2 separate regions of the Homo sapiens genome follow, and region 2 is linked to region 1. The links are contacts of gene promoters, found by promoter capture Hi-C in blood cells and fetal thymus (Javierre and others, 2016). All regions are on one chromosome and are shown on one strand. The core of a region is centred on a gene start or on the middle of the fragment in contact, and the rest is flanking DNA. Distances in the headings are between cores, read along the strand shown.

The links. The method cuts DNA at HindIII sites, captures the fragments that hold promoters and counts their contacts. A CHiCAGO score of 5 or more calls a contact.
Region 2: a fragment that was not itself captured here is called in contact with the fragment with the promoter of C15orf61 in region 1 in 3 of 17 cell types (naive B cells, total B cells and fetal thymus); the score reaches 7.3 in naive B cells.

What each region holds. Positions count from the first base shown.
Region 1 is chr15:67,519,475-67,523,215 of GRCh38, forward strand. C15orf61 (chromosome 15 open reading frame 61) reads left to right here and starts at 1,657. Exons shown (of 2, transcript NM_001143936.2): 1 at 1,657-2,120. The coding sequence starts at 1,775. It overlaps IQCH-AS1 (IQCH antisense RNA 1), which reads right to left and starts at 2,370. Exons shown (of 6, transcript NR_040052.1): 1 at 2,045-2,370. RefSeq lists enhancers at 1,244-1,323, 1,964-2,083 and a silencer at 1,504-1,853. The HindIII fragment of the contact is 4,154 bases long and covers 1,072-3,741 here.
Region 2 is chr15:67,776,181-67,779,921 of GRCh38, forward strand. All of the region lies in intron 21 of MAP2K5 (mitogen-activated protein kinase kinase 5), which reads left to right. Among named protein-coding and RNA genes, the nearest start is that of SKOR1, 47 kb to the right of the region's middle. The HindIII fragment of the contact is 1,535 bases long and covers 1,174-2,708 here.

The sequences.
Region 1 (3,741 bases), core at 407-2,906:
CCTAAAGCATAAGTTTTAACCAACTTTATATGTTGGGGACCTTCAACAGATTTCGTTTGAAAAAGGACTCCACTCTTTTTCAAAATTTAATTTGGTCAGGTGCAGAAGCTCACACCTGTAATCCCACCACTTTGGGAGGCCGAGGCGGGCGGATCACTTGAGCCCAAGTGTTCAAGACCAGCCTGGGCAACATGGCAAAATTCCACCTCTACAAAAAATACCAAAAAAAGCAGCCGAGTGTAGGTGGCACACACCTGCAGTCCCAGCTACTTGGGAGGCTGAGGGTGGGAGGATCTCTTGAGCCCAGGAGGCAGAAGTTGCAGTGAGCCGAGATCGAGCAGCTGCACTCCAGCCTAGACAACAGTGAGATCCTTTCTAAAAAAAAGAAAAGAAAAAGAAATTCTATAAAGTTCAAGTTCTATAAGGTAAAGTTCAACTTCAAATTCTGTAAGGTAAAGTTCAAGATTCGGCATATGTTGGTGGGTGCTCAATGTTCAATAAAAACTGGGGAATAGGCCTGGTGCAGTGGCTCACGCCTGTAATCCCAGCACTTTGGGAGGCCGAGGCAGGTGGATCACGAGGTCATGAGTTTGAGACCAGCCTGGCCAACATGGTGAAACCCCGTCTCTATTAAAAATACAAAAATTAGCCAGGCGTGGTGGTGCACGCCTGTAATCCCAGCCACTCGGGAGGCTGAGGCAGGAAAATCACTTGAACCTGGGAGGCAGAGGTTGCAGTGAGCTGAGATTGCACCACTGCACTCCAGCCTGGGCAACAGAGTGAGACTCCGTCTCAAAAAAACAAAACAAAACAAAACAAAAAACTGGGGAATATAAAATTTCGCCATACTATCCTACATCCCCCTTGAGTTTTTAGCAACGATAGTAATTGTTATATGATGCTTAACGCGTAATTACTGTACCTCATTTACATAAGGTGGTTTCAGACACATCATCTTGTTTATGTATGGCCTCTCCAAACAAAATGAGTTTAGGACAAAAGAGGAAATCCTTTTCTAAAAGCAGTTTTGTCCGTAAGTTACTGCCTCAAGAGGCCGCAAAGTTTGAGCAAAGCTTTTCCGAAAGTAATGGATTGGTAATGGGTGACTGAGGTCCACAAAGCTCGATAAGAGGCTCCTGGTCCGTCTACCAGGTTCTTAGAGGGAGGTGCCTTTGTGTGTTCGGACGCTGCACTGAGACACGTGAGGTTTTTAAATAAACTTTTGATTTTGAAATCTCTGGGACTAATTTTAAACAGTGAACCCGACAGCGAGGACCTACACACAAAAGTGCTCCCGGCCTTACCAAACAACGCAGACCCGGGGTCACGCCTCGTCCTGTTTCAACAACAACACCCAAGGGCTTCCCTGGAGCCCAGGGCGTGGGAGGGAGACTTGGGTTTGAGTTCTGCACCTTGCGGAGGTGGTTAGTTATTTAATTGTCTTCCACCTGAATTTTCCTCAGGCCCAAATTGATGAGACCTCCCCGAATCCCTCCCCTGCCCGAGTTACTAATGACGGCGTGAGGTCACACCTGGCCACTCAAAACCAGCTCCTTGACGCAGGTGACCCTCCGCCTCGCGCAGCTCACGCTTCCCATCCCCCGGACTCCACCCCCAGCGGGAGGCCACGGGGCCGCTGTGCGCACGCGCCGCCGCACACCGGGGGCTCTCGGGCACCCGCGCGGCGCCGGTTGGCCTTCCCGGCGCTCGCCCGGGGGCGCGCTTGCGCGCCAGCGGCTGCGGACACCAGCCTGCGTCCCCGGCGCGGCGGGCCATGGAGGCCCTGAGGAGGGCCCACGAGGTCGCGCTCCGCCTGCTGCTGTGTAGGCCGTGGGCCTCGCGCGCCGCCGCCCGCCCCAAGCCCAGCGCCTCGGAGGTGCTGACGCGGCATCTGCTGCAGCGGCGCCTGCCGCACTGGACCTCCTTCTGCGTGCCCTACAGCGCCGTCCGCAACGACCAGTTCGGCCTCTCGCACTTCAACTGGCCGGTGCAGGGCGCCAACTACCACGTCCTGCGCACCGGCTGCTTCCCCTTCATCAAGTACCACTGCTCCAAGGCTCCCTGGCAGGACCTGGCCCGGCAGAACCGCTTCTTCACGGCGCTCAAGGTCGTCAACCTCGGTGAGTGGCGACTGCCGCGCCCACGCGGTGAAGCCCGCCCGGCCGGGACGGCCCCTCAGCCACCGAGCACGTGACGAACGCTCGCAGGCCGGTAGAGTCCCGCGGGAGTCAGCTCTGCCTCCCGGCGCCGGCTTCGCCTGGGGTCCTTTGTACTCCTCGCCCAGGGGGTCCCCAGCTTGCTGAGCTCCTGGCACCCGAAGCCGTTCGCCTGCTGCGGGCGCGTCCTCGGGCCTAGGGAGGGGCGGGTCGCCCTCCTGTCCTGCCCATGTTAACCAGAGTAGACCCCTGGCCTGGGCAGTAAGCCAGGGGGCGTCAGGAAACGCCCCCTAGAAAGTGGCTCTGAAGTTGACATCCGTCCTACTGCATGGCAGGACTCATTCCCGTGAACATCACTTTGCAGCTGCGTTTATGTTGCAATAACTGGAACTACTCTTTTAAGTTTCTTTTGTTTTCTTTGTATGAATTCCCGGCAAGTTCGTTTTACTAAAAGCACCAAAGGTTTTCACCAGACATAACAGCTTCCTGAGGTGCTAGGCCTAAAAGATTTTTAAAGATCTTTAATATTTGTATATTTTCATGGAGACGCCCTGAGGATGTTTACTGTCACTAGGTGTTTATTTTCTTTTGGTTTAATGACAGAAGAGGGAGGTACGAACATGGACATGGGTGTATCTTTTATAGGTCAGGGGAAAACAGAAGGCCTCAAGATGTTTTGAACTTACTAATAGCTGGCATAAAATCAATCTAGATTTCAGTGATTCAAAATCTAGCCATGGAGCTGAATGAACCATGTTACCCAGCCAGGTTTTTAAAGCCAGGATTAAAACTAAACCCTGCGCAGCCGTACTACTAATACTATTACATAATCTGATCGTCCATTAAGGTTAAAAATAGTCTGTGTATTTGTGCTTATAATAACACATATGTCAGTCGTGGGCTTTTTGAGCCGTTACTCCACTGGACTGTCCTGTAAGGAGATAATTGTTTAGCAACGTGTTATCCTTTAAAAATGCCTCTTATTATTTGGCTGATGGACTGTATAGAGCATGCCCACTACTTTGGAGGTTGGTTGAAGTTGAAGGGTGAGGTGACTTAGGAAATTCAATTCGAAATTATTTGGAAAGACTGGAGTGTTAACTAGATTCGAGAAGTATAAGTTTATTTTAGCATTTTTCATAAGTAAGAAATCATTCTTCCCTAAAGAATAATAGGTTAGGAAAAGCATAACGGGAGAGTTATAGGTAAACCATGAGCCAAATGCCTTTTTTTCCTTTAAAGTCACATTTTTAGTGTTGACATTTTGTTTAAGAGCACCTTAATGATTAGGGGCCTCTCTTTTAGATTTAGAGATTAAGACATCCAAAAAAAGTGGATACTCAGAACATTCCACACATAGAAAAGTAAAACCTTTTAAAGTTGAAAGAAACAACAGTTGTAGTGTTTTTTGTTTTGTTTTGTTTATTAATGTGGGAGAGTGATTTAATGGTCTGTATGGTCTTTTGGACATTCTAAAAATCCTGCTAAAATGGGAGTAAGAGTTCTAAGTTAAGCAAAAAGGACAACTTTTTGCTCATGCATGCTTTAATACAAATTGGGATATACTGATAAAGGGAATTAAAAA
Region 2 (3,741 bases), core at 691-3,190, 260 kb after region 1:
ACAGAAGACAGGTAGAACCCCACCCCCACCCCCACCTCCACTTCTGCCTCCAATTCTTTTCCTGGATAATGATTCCATTATTAAATAATCTGCTTTTAAATCACGCTGCTGCAACTCCCAGGAAAGACCTGTGTCAGTGCTGCCCCAGCTCTGTGAACTGGGACCAACAAACTTAGGGACAAATTTTCAGACAGTAGAGACCCTGAGGAGGTAGCAGACAGAATGTCCAGCAGGCCTTCAGAAAAATGCAGGGATTCCATGGCTTATGTGGGAAAAAGCCAGCCCCTTGCCAGTCAGAAAGGATTGGTGGGACTGCAGCAAGAGGGGAGACAGCGATAATGCAAAGATGGTAGAGAAATTTCCCTTAAATGTCAATAATCAAATGGAAGGATGCAAAAACATAAAAATCAGACCCTTAAATTCAGGGACAAAGACAACCTAAGATGAGAGCATTAAGATGGGGGTTCAGGTTGGTTTTGCTATTCAATTTCTGTGTTTAAATATTTTTAAATAAAAGGGGTATGTGAGATATTACTGTATAGACCATTTGCTTCTCTAAACCACAAGGAATTCCTTCTGAGGAATTAATCATCCTTCAGAGTTATTTGGTAGCTAAGGTCAGGATGTGACTTAGCCGGGAGAACCTCCATCACATCCCTTCACTGTGTAACCTCAGCCAACTCCCCATCCCCTCTCCACTTCAGTGTCTTTTCATCTGCAAAACCGAGGGGGCAGCCCTTGACCAATGGTCTGTGACTTTAGGAAGTCAGAACCCCAGAAATTACATCCGAAGTTATCTATGCATGTGGAGATGTTTCTTTTCATCCAAAAACAGGAATTCATGACTGCTACATTTTTCAAAGGGGACCCTGACCCTCAATGATTGTTAAGCTCCCTTGCTTCTGTCCTTTAGAGTTACTTGGCCAGGAGCTGACTGTAGGGAGGGAAGTGTTCACTCAGCGGGAGAGTGCTTGCTTGAGGGTGGGGTGGGGTGCTTTCTATGGGGTTCAGCAGGGCTTTGCACCAGCTGTCAGGCAGCCCTTTAACTTCCCTGCCTAGCCTGATTGTGGGCCTTAACTTGAACGGGGAAGGTGTGGGCTGTGGGCACCCACACAGTTACAATTTGGGCTCAGAGTACGGTAGATCTTTCTATGCATTTAGAGTGTTTCCAGAAGCTTTCAGTGTCTAAGCTCTATTTAATGGAATCTATGCATAGTAAGTAATCAGGTCAGAAGAAGCAGCATCCCGGTTTGAGATCAATCGCTGGCTAATACTTTATCTAGGCCACTTTATTATCTCATGCTGATCTGATTCCCATTCTCCCCCTCCTTTGTAGCATGCACTTCGGCTGTGGTAAAAGTACGTATCACATACATATTAAAAACATATACCCATTCTATCTGTATGTAAATGCGTGAGGCACAGCTGGATATTGCAGAGGAGTTTGATTTACTAATAGTTATTATCTGTTCTAGCTGTTCAGTGGCAGCGAGAATTTCAGAGAAACAAGCTGGCGAAGAAATTTTCTTTATGCTGTTACTATACTGCTTTAGTAATTGTTTAAAAACATGGGTTTTCTCCTTAGGTTCTAGTAATGCCTGTTATTTTGTGCATCTCCTTGTACATTCCAGAGTAGGACATCCTTTAAAGGCATTTAGCATTTCCTCAGGTTTGGTTTTCAATTTAGGCACCTAAAAAGAAACACAGGATGCAGTTTGCAATTGAAATTTGACATTTTGCTTAGACAGCAAGTAAATAGTGGCATTAGAAATACAACAAGTTGGCATGGGTCCTAGAAGGCGGGGTATCAGTTAAAATCAGAATAGCGCTCTTGGATTTTTTTCCTTCATGTCATCCCAGCAGCTGCAAACTTGAAGGCATCTCATTTCTCAGCTAAGGCTTTATGTATAAGAGGTGGTAATGTTTGGGGGCTAATAAACACCAAACTGCTCTAGAAAAATCTGTTTAAACATTTAATTACTTACTAAGAGATGTTAACTTGTTTAACTCCTCTAAATTAAATTGTCACTGGTAGCTTTTCTGCTTTTCCAAACCTGATTGTAATTACATTTTCAGATAGTATGGTTGGTTGTTCTCTCAATTAATCAAGGTATATGATAAATTGCACATCTGCGTGGTCCCTTTAAAAATCAGGGTAACCATGATGTTAGATTTTTGTCTCTCCAACACTCAAATTCCAGTGTGACTTTGGGCTTCACACCAAATGGCTTTGTTTCATTGTTAGACCCAAATCTTCTGATCACTGTGAAAGACAAAATGCACTGGACAATTAAGAAGATGATTTTATTTAGGGCTATTGCAGTAGGGAGAGTGTTTATTAATGAGGAATGGCTCAAAGAAAAGGGAGGGTTCTGAGGTCTTATGAAGGCAGGTAAACAAGGGGGTCACCAGCAAGTCTTAGAGAAGTCACGAGGAAAGATGGAAAAGGATCTTACCTCTGTGAGAGCAGGGTGATCCTTTGCGGTTAGCAGAAGGGTAGGGGGATTTCTTACCTGTTACTGTTTACTAGAAGCACGGGGCTCAGATCAATTCAAAATGATCACCACATTCTACTAAACATGCCAAAGATAAGTTTCGGTTTACTTTGATCCGGGGCTTACCTGTGCCCTGAGCGCAAATATGAAGAAAGGTGCATTTCCATAGCCCCCTTAGAGAGTGCTCATCCACCCTGTGCTTGCAAAAATCTAAGCTTTTTAAAATACTAATGATGGTTAATAAATTGTGAACTTGGATGTAGTTCACTACAGTTAGGTATTGCCTGTGTCATATAAAGTGTGTTTTAAAATGAACCTTTAGGGCCAGACTCCTAATGTGTCTGGCCACTCATTCTTGTAAACATCATTTTGTTTTCAGTTGTTCATTTGGAAGTAGCTCATTAGCTATGCCGCCCAGAATTTGCAGTGAGAAATACTGGCTGGGATTGTAACTTCAGCTGAGTATTTCCATCATGCACAAAAGTCATCACAACAGCAAGGGGGCCCCACGTAGGGTCCAGCTGACAACCATGGAATTTTTTTTTAAGTTCTGAAGGCCATTAAAATCATCTGTTTGTGTCTGCTTATAAAGAGGAACCCACTAGTAAAGAAGTTGATTTTAGCTTTTTAATTGCATATAATTACATCGGCAGAATCACTGTCTGGATACTTGAGATCGCACTAAATCAGACAGCTTTAATTTGAATTTTTGATGACACATTAGCACTTCAGCAAGAACAGAGAGATTATAACCCTAAGAAAACAGGCTTTGTTTTTCCATAGATGTGACCACTTAATCTTTTCACAAGACTTTAGCAGATAAATATGTGTGTGTATGTATATGTCTTTATATGCATGCGCATAGCAAGAGAGATATAGATAAAGTCTGTCATTCCTTGATCATGGTGATCTGACAGTTTTAATCTCCCAGTTAAGCATAGCTTTTTTCCTCCATCAGTCAAGTCAGATCTCTTAGTATGATGATGACTTGCCTGTTTAAGATTGTAGTTATTTGAACTCATGTCTCTAATGCCTCTTTCGTGTTTTATTGGACTGTCATCTTCCTAGTATCTTGTTTCAAGGCACAGTGAAGCTGTGTAGCATTCATTGAGCACAGGAAGAGTTTGGTTATCTTGGATGCAGTAAAGTGGATCAGTTGGGCTGCTCTTCAGTGCCGTGCCAGATTTGCGGCAGCGGGAGGCTAAGGTGGGTCTTTAAAGTATGTTACACTTTAGTTCCTCATTGG